Linked DNA regions of Homo sapiens: region 1 is linked to region 2. The links are contacts of gene promoters, found by promoter capture Hi-C in blood cells and fetal thymus (Javierre and others, 2016). All regions are on one chromosome and are shown on one strand. Each heading gives the region's core, a stretch centred on a gene start or on the middle of the fragment in contact. The rest is flanking DNA. Distances are from core to core; before and after follow the strand shown. Region 1 overlaps SIVA1 (SIVA1 apoptosis inducing factor). Region 2 holds the start of CLBA1 (clathrin binding box of aftiphilin containing 1).

Region 1 (3,574 bases), core at 930-3,429, 230 kb after region 2:
AGACTCCGTCTCAAAAAAAAAAAAAAAAGAAAGCTCTAAAGGTAAAGGCTAGGGAACCCGGCAAAACACAGGGAGAAAGTGATTAAGAGAGATGTTGCGAGGAAACGGGACTGGCAATGGCTACCCCAAACACGACAGGGCCGTGGAGTCAACAAGGCAGCCAGAACTGCTTGCCACTTGGTTTGCAGAGTTTGCCAGTAGTATTGTGGGTGAGCCGCGAAGACAGCCCCTCACCGCCACCGGCAGCCAGCTGGAGAGCCCTGCAGAGGACGGGCCAGGCGTGGGCCAGTGCAGGCCATCAGCAGGACGCCAAAGGCTGCTGGGCTGCATCTGTGTTAAACCAGAGCCGTGTGGACAGATCCCTGTTTTCCCCCACTCCTGCGACGCCTGGTCCTGAAGTAGGAAATGGCAGGGGAGGGGGTAGGAGACTGCGGGTGCCACCAGCTGGGCTGCCTGGCCTGGGAATGCCACTTCTGGCTTGTGACCTGGAACAAGTCATTTATTTGTGAAAGAGGGCAGAGCCCACCTCCTGTGCTGTAGCTGCGATAAAAGAGTGTGTCCACAGTGGGGACAGTGGCCCACTCAGCTCAACGTGAACTCTGTGGGTATGGGAGGAAGCAGCAGCAGAAAGTAGGTAGAGGCCAGGAGGAAATGGGCGCAAGGGAGTCCCTCAAGGATGGTGTGCAGGGCAGGAGTGGGAGGCCAGCCACGCAGCGCTCTGGGACCCACCTCTCCGCTGAACCTGCCCATGGCTATGTTCACTTCTGCTTTGGTGAGAGGGCCACCAGACAATGAGAAAACCCTGCCCTTTTCAGTTTACTTCTAGGAAAGAAGATGAACTCAGCGGGTGAAAAGCAAAGACAGAGTATCCCACATTCATAGCTAGCCCTGCAGATGATTCCCAACCTGGATGGGGTGCGTTACCCCACTCCTGCCCATGCTGAAGCCATGGGAGCCGATCACTGGCACGCGGCGCTTCTCCCTGGTGCTGCCCCCCCTGCCCAGGGCTCTCCGTCTCCAATGAGTCTGGGCCTCTGCCCCGACTGAAGAAAGGCTCGAGAGAAAGGACTCGAGATGTAACATGTGGTTTCTATTTTAGATGGACAATTTCAGACATTGTTTGGACTAAGCTTGCTTTGGGTCTATGGAGCCAGTTCCACATGTGTCTGGATGAAGTCATCTTTCTCACGGGGCAGGGCAAACAGGCTCCACACTGTCCACTCCCATCCACCAGGTGAGTAGCCCCTAGGGTGAGAACGCCCCTCCCCACCTTAGGAGTAAGGACGGGATCCAGCCAGCTGCAGCAAACCCACCCACAAATGGGAGACTACACAAACACTCCACTTCCTGCCTGAGAGGGTCTACAACCAAACGGCACGCATGACTGTGGTGAAGCTGCGGTGTGCACCTGTGTCACCAACCAGGGGCTCCTCGGACGGGGGGAGGGGGGGCTCAAAGACCAGAGGAGGAGGAGGTGGGGGTGCTCAAAGATCAGAACAGGAAGTGGCTGAAGACAGGGACTAGAGCCGGATACAGAGCAGGTCATCTGTGAGGTTCAGCTTTCCCTTAGAGAGGATTACTAACCACTAAAGTTGGGCCAAGCATCTATTGCCACCATGTCCCGTTAGGCAATGCCAGATGGCACTGCATCAGGGGCCACACGTGTGTGTTCTGGGCCCACATGGGTGACCCACCCGTCCCCCATCACGGCTTGCTGGGGCTATGGGATCTCAGCAGCTCCAGGGACTGAAGTACTTACTCCACGAGGCCACACAGGGTACAGGCCACGGAGCCGCAGCCCCAGCAGGTGCGCACACACTGCCCGCACAGGGCTCGCTCACACTGACCGCAGACCGCCTTCCCATCCACGGCTCGCACGCATGAGGAACAGGCAATGGACGCTACCCCAGATGGGTCTGTGAGGAAGAAACGCCAAGCCGTCAGGCTGCAAGGAGACTGGAGTTTCCGGGACTGCCGGGCTACCTGCCTCCATGCATACCTGAGGGCAGAGGGCTCTGACCTGCCTACCCCATCCCCACCTACACTGGATCCTTCTGACAACCCGTGAGCCTGGTACAGTGCACAGGACCCCCGTTTTACTACAGAGATCCAAGGTGAGATATGCCTGTAGTTGACTCCAAGTTCAGTGCTCTTTCCCTTACCAGGTCCCTCTGCTACCTGGAGGCTAGTGCTGGAAGGACCATTCTTCCCCTGTTGCTTGTCAGAACTCCATGTGTCCCATCTGGGTCTCAGTGTGGCCCACTGCCTTACTGGTTAACAAAGAGGTGCCTGGGCTCCTCCTAGACACACCAACCAGACTTGAGGTAGAGTCGGGGATTGCATTTCTAACCAGCAACACAGGTGATGCTCTGAGACCCCACACTGCATAGGGATGGGACTGGCATGTTTCCAGCCTTGTGGGACTATCTGAGGGGGCTGCAGGCGGAAAGCAGACGGGATACCCGGGGAGTCTCTGCTGCTTTTTTGGCCCAGTACTTAGAAGCTGTTTAACAACTTCCAGTCTTGAATGTGAGACCTCCTGATAACAGGAGCCTTCTGAGCCAGAAGGCCAAGCTCTGGGTCAGAGTCCTGCTTACCCAGGGAGGAAAAGCCTGACCTTGCAAATCAAGAAAAATGCTCGTGCCACCACCTGCCCTCAGTGCCACAGCCACAAAGGGCTGCTGGTGCCACTCACCAGCTTCGGAGGCCTGCCCAAGGCTCCTGATCAGGCGGCCGTCTGGTCCAATCAGCATCTGCCCACGTGCAGCCCTCGGGGCCCCTGTAGGGCCAGGCTTTGGGGACTCTGGCAGGTGAACGACGGCACAGCCTTCATCCCACACGTGGTCCAGGTAGGCCTGGGCCCCGAGGAACAGGAGTCGCTTGGTCTTCTCTGGGGGAAGATAAATCATTCTCACGTCCTTCACTGTGTACCAACGAAGCCCCTGCATGGCCATTGAGTCTTTCTAGCCTCACATGAACCCCATCGTCCTCCTGTGTGCCCTCTGTCTCCCAGTAACCCCAGCCTGTGTTGTGCCCTGGCGAGCTGGGTCCTGCTCTGCCTCTATGCTGAGAATGCTTGTGCGTCCTTTCCTTACCTGGCTTAGCTGTCATCTCCTCCAGGAAGGCTCTGGCCCTGCAGCCCCACCTGTGTCTGATGCAAGGGTTCCCTCTCCTATCACTCGGCTCATTTTCTGCAATTCACGGCTGGCCTCGCCTCACTAAGCTTGTCCCCTTTCTCCCTTTTCTGCTTCCCCAGCACTCCCCACCTGGAAACCAGGCTCTGTGGAATGCACAGAGGGAGCTCTGCACTGTGGAGCACTAATTCACAAAACTCGTCCCCTGCCAAGGAAGCAGCCAGAGGCTTGGAGCTGGGCCTACAGCCTCTGGCCAGAGCACACCCCCTTCACCTGCTACAGAGTTGCTGGCAAGACAAGCATCCCAGAACCTTCCAGACCTCTTGTTCTAGAACACCCACCCATCCCTGGGAGCAGTGGTTTTCCATCAGGCCACAGTTCAGTCACCTGGGGAGCTTTGAAAAATCAGATGCCCAGGGCCAGACCCAGAAATGCTTTGT
Region 2 (6,446 bases), core at 2,628-5,127:
TCTGTCTTTCAATGCTCAGTTGAAAGTGTGTCCCTGGAAAATGGCCATCTGCGAGTGACTGCGGGTGCACTTTCCCCTAGGAGCCTGTGGCCCTGCAGGCAGCACCGGGAGCACCCCTGGGGCTGGGCCTGGGGCTGACAATGGGGCTCCAGAGTGTGGAACGTTTTCTAGAACTCTGTGGCTGAGAACCATGAGGCAGCCGGTGCCCACTCAGCCAAGTCCCCCAGAAGGCCCCTGTGCCCACTGCCCAGGCCCACCAGCCACTCGCACTGAATGCGAGGCCCCCACCCACTCCACCAGCACTGGCACTGAGACCCAAGGGGAGCTGGGCTTGGGTCCAGCTGCTCCAGGTGAGCTGGCTGGGGAGGAGGATGAATAGGGCTCAGAGTGGAAGGCCACAGCTGGAGCGCCAATCGTGCTGCCCCTTCTCATAGGACCCCTATGACCCACAGATGGCAGGGACCTCAGGAGAGATGCTACTCTCCATAAAGGCAAAAACAAAGCCTCACACACCTACTTTTATCAAACAAAAGTACAAAAGCAGTTGCTGTAAGAAATATTTCTTCAGTTCATTACCACAATTTATGTACACGTTCAACGCCAGGTTTTTCTTCACTGCTTATTTCTAGGAAATGGTCTATGGTGGAAACGTCTTCAGCTGCCTGCTGGACTGTTATTTCTTGAAAAGCACACTTTAAAATGTTCTCATAGCTGAGAATGGGCTGAAAAGAAAAGAAGAAAAGCATACCAAAGTTAGGAGAAAGACATACATAACGTTACCTTATTCCAAAGAAATAATTGTGATAGAAATGAAATTTGTAATTGATCATACCATTAGTGTTACTATCACTTGACATATTCATTCCTAAAAATCACCAAGTTAGCAAAATCACACAAAACCAGAGGACTCATGGGAAAGGTGGGGTTAGGGCAAAACATTCAAACTTCATCAGTGACACATGAAAAAAGATGACCACCCAATAATGTCAGTGCTGTTTTCCAGTTTGGTTAAGAAATTATACATGCGGCCGGGCGCGGTGGCTCACGCCTGTAATCCCAGCACTTTGGGAGCCCCAGGTGGGCAGATCACGAGGTCAGGAGTTCGAGACCAGCCTGGCCAACATGGTGAAACCCCCATCTCTACTAAAAATACAAAAATTAGCTGGGTGTGGTGGTACACGCCTATAATCCCAGCTACTTAGGAGGCTGAGGCAGGAGAATCGCTTGAATCCGGCGGGTGGGGGGCAGAAGTTGCAGTGAGCCGAGATTGTGCCACTGCACTCCAGCCTGGGTGACAGAGAGAGACTCCGTCTCAAAAAAAAAAAAAAAGAAATTATACATACTACAGTAAGCACAGCACTTTACCTTGGAAAAGACAAAGGCTCGCAGGCTGAGTTAGTGTGAAGGGGTAGGAGGAGGGTGGTCTGAACCGGGTGAAGTCCTAACACCAGGTGTTGACAGGTGTGCTACATTGGGGCACTAAGCGCTGTGTGAGGGTGTACGTGTGCGAGTCTCATGTATTCCAACGGGCCCCAGCTCAGCTGGGGGCAGTTTTCTGCATTTATCTACTCTTTCTTGTGAAATTTCAACTATGCTCTAATTGTTCCCTAATACATCAATCACGCTGGAAAACAAATCCTGTATTCAAAACAAGCATTACAGCAGACCTTACTCTATTAAGAGTGGATCTCATCAGGATTCCAGGGAAACTGCTTCAGAAAACAGTCCGGCCGGGCATGGTGGCTCACGCCTGTAATCCCAGCACTTTGAGAGGCCGAGGCGGGCGGATCACCTGAGGTCAGGAGTTCAAGACCAGCCTGGCAAACATGGTAAAACCCAGTCTCTACTAAACATACATATATATATATATATATAAAAAGTTAGCCGGGCGTGGTGGTGGATGCCTGTAATCCCAGCTACTCAGGAGGCTAAGGCAGGAGAACTGCTTGAACCCAGGAGACAGAGGTTGCAGTGAGCCGACACAGTGCCACTGCACTCCAGCCTCAGCGACAGAGTGAGGCTGTCTCAAAAAAAAAAAAAAAAAAAAAAAAAAAAAAAGAAAAGGAAGAGAAAACAGGCCAGCCCTGAGAACTACAATATCTTTATTTCCTTCCTCACTGGTTTTATTTCTGATCTCTCATGATGGTGCTTGGGATGAACCATTTGGGAAGAAGTGGCAGAGAAAGAGGAACAATGGAAGGAAGAAGACAGGAAAAGAGAAGGAGCGGAAGTGTCACCAAACGGTAAACACCCACAGTCTGCTCTGAAAGAGAGCAGGGGGCAGGGGCCTGAAGGCTGGGACCCTGGCTCCCGGACAGGTCGGAATGGGCATCACCCAATTCATTACAAGCTCCCGGACAGGTTGGATCCCGCGTCACCCAATTCATTACAAGCAAGTTGAAATGTGATCATGTGATTTTAGAATCTCTGAGACTTTTGAACTCAGCAGATTCAGAATTCAGACAAAAAGCTCCTCCTCAAATGCCCTGAGCTGGGGCCAGTGCAGCCCCCACCAATGGGGAATGGACAGGCTGGGGGAGGAATGGTCAGAAAGAGCGACCCAGCTCAGGTGGCCCCCACCTGGCCTTCGTGTGACCCATTTCTGCAGCCTCCTCTGCCAACTCATTGCTTCCCTGGCCTCAGGATGGGACTGCCAACCACATGGCCAGGGACGAAGGCCAGGAGAGAAGCAGACGCTCTGGGGCTGTCAGCCCCCTCCCTGGCCAGCACGCCACAGCATTCGAGGGCTGTAGGCCTCTTGGTGTGTACACGTCCCACTCAACATGGTGACCACAGCACAGCAGAAATACCTCAGAAGGTGGGACGGCAGAAGTTCCTGTCACCCAAGGTCCACCCTGGCATGGTTGGTGAGAACTGCACTCTTTTGGGGCAGAAGTGGTTCTCGGTGGCTGGGGTTCTGTGGGTCCCTCGAGGAGTTCAAGGGACTGTGAGAATTGTCCAGACTTGGCTGAAGATTCCCGAAAGCCTTCAAACTCCCCCCAAGTGCTGCTGTGTTCCCCAGGGTCAGGACATCGGGCAGTGCAGGTGGAACCGCCCTCACGGGGCATGGAGATGCTGGCTTTCCCATCGGACAGGAGAAGGTCGGGGCAGGTCCGTCTCCATTCCAAACTGTCATCACTCAGCCTCTCAGGTGCCACTCGGAGGGAAGCGCTGGCTGCTTCCTCCTGGAGGTCACTCAAAGGCTCTCCCCCCAGCTCCCGCCGGCCTTGCATCTTGGAGCCCCCAGGCCAGCAGAGGCCCGATGGGCAGCTGCTCAGGAGACATGCACGCCGGGGTGCTGGCCGCCCAGGACTGCCCAACCTTCCCCTGCCCTGGAGAGGGCCAGGGGACGCTGCAGGAGTGCCCCGGGCTGCCCAGTGGCTGACGGTGGAAAGTGCCCACGTGCTGCTGTGGAACTGACACAAACCACAGGAATGGCCCGGTCGCCCGGGAGTCCTGGCTTCCTCCCACGCAGGCGGGCGCGGAGTCCGACACAGAGGCGCGTACCAGACCCACGGCAGGTGTGAGAGGGGCGGCCCAAGGTGGGGCTCCTGCTCTGGAGAGAGCCGCGAGGGGGCCTGGGAGGCCCACGCTGGCCAGAGGAGCGAGAGCCGGGCGCCCGCGGGAGTCCCAAGTGGGAAGGAGTGGGTGCGGCGCCCCGGGGCCTCCCGAGAGTCCCTCTCGCACGCGGCCCGCAGAGCAGCCCTGGAACGCCTGGGCCTGGACAGGGCCCGAGGTGGCCGGCTAAGCGCCTGGCCCACGGCTCCCGAGAGTCCCCGCACCCACCTTGGTCGCCGCCTCGGCGGGGCCGCGCGGGACCAGGGCGAGAGAAACCTGCAACCAGCCGTTCCCTCCTGCCTGCGCCGCCCCGTTGCCTGGCAACGGCGTGCGCCAGCTCCGCTTCCGGCGTCCGTCGCCGTGGCGTCAGCACGCATCCGGGGCGAGGCCAGCGCCGGCCCCCGCCGTTCAGGACCCGCCCCGGACCCGCCCTCCCTGCCCCGGGCCGCCTCCGCTGCGGGTGGGATCGGGCTTCCACACTGGCCGAGCCCTGGGCGCCGGGCCGCTCGAGCTTTCTGTCCGTGCTCAGTTCGCCGCCCGAGTGGTTCTTTCTTTTTTTTTTTTTTCTTTTTTTTTTGAGACGGAGTCTCGCTCTGTCGCCCAGGCTGGAGAGCAGTGGCGCGATCTCGACTCACTGCAAGCTCCGCCTCCCGGGTTCACGCCATTCTCCTGCCTCAGCCTCCCGAGTAGCTGGGACTACAGGCGCCCGCCACCACGCCCGGCTGATTTTTTTGTATTTTAATAGAGACTGGGTTTCACCGTGTTAGCCAGGATGGTCTCGATTTCCTGACCTCGTGATCCGCCCGCCTCGGCCTCCCAAAGTGCTGGGATTACAGGCTTGAGCCACTGGGCCTGGCCCTAGAGTGGTTCTTTCTTCCTCACGACGAGCTCCCCAGGTCCGTCCCAGCGCACCCGTCACCCGCAGCCCCTTCTCCCGGCGCCCCGCAGCCTAACTTGCCGCGCCGCCGACCCCTCTGTGGGTGCAGCTGAGCGACGGCCCCTCAGGACCCCACCTGTCCCTGGCGAGAGCCAAGTCCGTCTTGCTGACTCCTGAATCCCAAAACCTCGCCCGCCCCTAACTCGTCCCCATTCCTGGGGGAAGGAGCTGCGGGGAGGCTCCACCCCTCCCTCGCAGGCCGCATGGAGTGCTCCCCTCCTTTGTCACCAGCCAGACCCGGGCAGAGCAGGGCTGACGGACAGCCCCTCTCCAGCCACTGGACGACCAAGGAGCTAGGCTGGCCTCTGGCAGCTCCCCTCCGGGCTTCCAGGCCTTCTGCCATCTGCCCTCACCCCCAGACTCAAGGAGTCAACCTTGACTCCATCTCCTCCCTGGCCTTCCCAGACTGGCCCCCATCACTGCCTCCTCTGGGTAAGGGGAGGGCCTGGCCCTGGTGAAGCCCTGAACCATGCCACCTACTGTCCACCCCCTATCTACCTCAGGCTCGCATTTCTCCCACCCTGGGGCCTGGGGCCCTGCCTGGACTCTGTCCTTGCTTGAATCACCCCTTCCCTCCCTGGTCCTTCTCAGCCAAGCTACAGAACAATTTAATTTTACAAATGACAAGATGAGATCATTCTCTGCACCTTAGACCCAGCCTCCTGTCCCCGCTCCTTCCTGAGGGGCAGAGCAGCCGGGCCATGCAGTATGGAAGCTCTTCGGTCAGACTGCCCAGGACTGGATCTTGGCTTGGCCACCCCAGCACCGCAGTGACCCTAAGGATGGTGATCAGGAGCTGGCTGGGTTTGTAGACCAGGCCTGGGCCTGTCTTGCCAGCTTAAGGGCAGTGTCCGTTCCCACTGCTGCCCCTCATCCACTGCACGTCCTTGCCGTCCTTGAGGCCCAGGGAGCTGGGAGGGGGGCAGGAGGAGTGTTGTCCTTGTGTACAGGTGGGGAAACTGAGGCCCCACCCCAAAGGCCTGCGTGAGAAGCAGAGCTGGGACAGGAGCTGCTCTCCTCGTTCTCTGCAATTCCCCACCCCCGTCTGGGCCTCAGCTTCCACGTGAAGAGCGTGGGGAGCACAGTACTCCCAGGGTGGTTGGAGGATAGAAATGACCCATATGGGTTGAAGAGCTGGTGTGGCAGTTGAACAGCCCCACAGAGATGTCCACATCCTAACCCCTGGAACCTGTGGCTATGTGACCTTACAGGGTCAAAGACACTTTATAGATGGGCTTAAATTAAGGCTCTTGAGAGGAGGAGTGGAGCCTGGATGAGGCATGTAATCACAAAGGTCCTGAGAAGGAAGCAGGAAGGTCAGAGTCAGAGAGGAGACGCAAAGATGGAAGCAGAGCCGGAGTGATACGAGACTGCAGATGCCTCTGGAGGCTGAAGGGACCAGAAAACAGATCTCCCCTGAAGCCTCCAGAAGGCACACCATCCTGCCCACACCTAGAACTGGAGTTGATAAATGCGCACATGCTGTTTTCAACCACTGTGTCGGGGGTATTTTGTTATGGCAGCAGCAGGGAACTAATATGCCTGAGTGACCCCTTGTGACCCACTGAGAAGTGCTGCGTCGGGGAAGCCAAGGTGCAGAGGAAATGGCAGCGGCAACCTTGACATCAGGTGCCCAACCCTGGTTGCAGGAGGAGGTGGGGGCAGCCCAGGTGGCTGCTAGGCCGCTGCTGGCTTCTTGGGCCAGCTTCTGGGCAGACCATCCTGCTTCATGGCACAGCCTGAAAGGCACGAGCTGAGGATAAGGCTTCCAGGTTGGCGATTGGAGCAGGCACTGCTCAAATTGAACTGGCCCAGCTGCTAGGGGAGACTGGGCCGGAGAGGGTGGGTTCCCATTAAAGCCTGGGTGTGGGGGACATTAGCCATGACTCCCGAGGGGCATGGAGGGGGCAGGTGGAGTGTGGTCGGGACGAGGAGCCCATGTGGCCCTCCC

Evidence for each region. The method cuts DNA at HindIII sites, captures the fragments that hold promoters and counts their contacts. A CHiCAGO score of 5 or more calls a contact.
Region 1: a fragment that was not itself captured here is called in contact with the fragment with the promoter of CLBA1 in region 2 in 1 of 17 cell types (neutrophils); the score reaches 5.2 in neutrophils.

Annotation. Positions count from the first base shown.
Region 1 is chr14:104,754,946-104,758,519 of GRCh38, reverse strand. SIVA1 (SIVA1 apoptosis inducing factor) reads right to left here. Exons shown (of 4, transcript NM_006427.4): 2 at 2,696-2,890; 3 at 1,760-1,916. It overlaps LOC107987209 (a long non-coding RNA gene), which reads left to right. Exons shown (of 3, transcript XR_001750915.3): 2 at 1,100-2,114. Among named protein-coding and RNA genes, the nearest start is that of SIVA1, 3.6 kb to the right of the region's middle. The HindIII fragment of the contact is 2,093 bases long and covers 1,133-3,225 here.
Region 2 is chr14:104,983,219-104,989,664 of GRCh38, reverse strand. It overlaps CLBA1 (clathrin binding box of aftiphilin containing 1), which reads right to left and starts at 3,877. Exons shown (of 5, transcript NM_174891.4): 1 at 2,811-3,877; 2 at 577-722. The coding sequence starts at 3,233. RefSeq lists a silencer at 3,619-4,088. The HindIII fragment of the contact is 10,527 bases long and covers 1-6,446 here.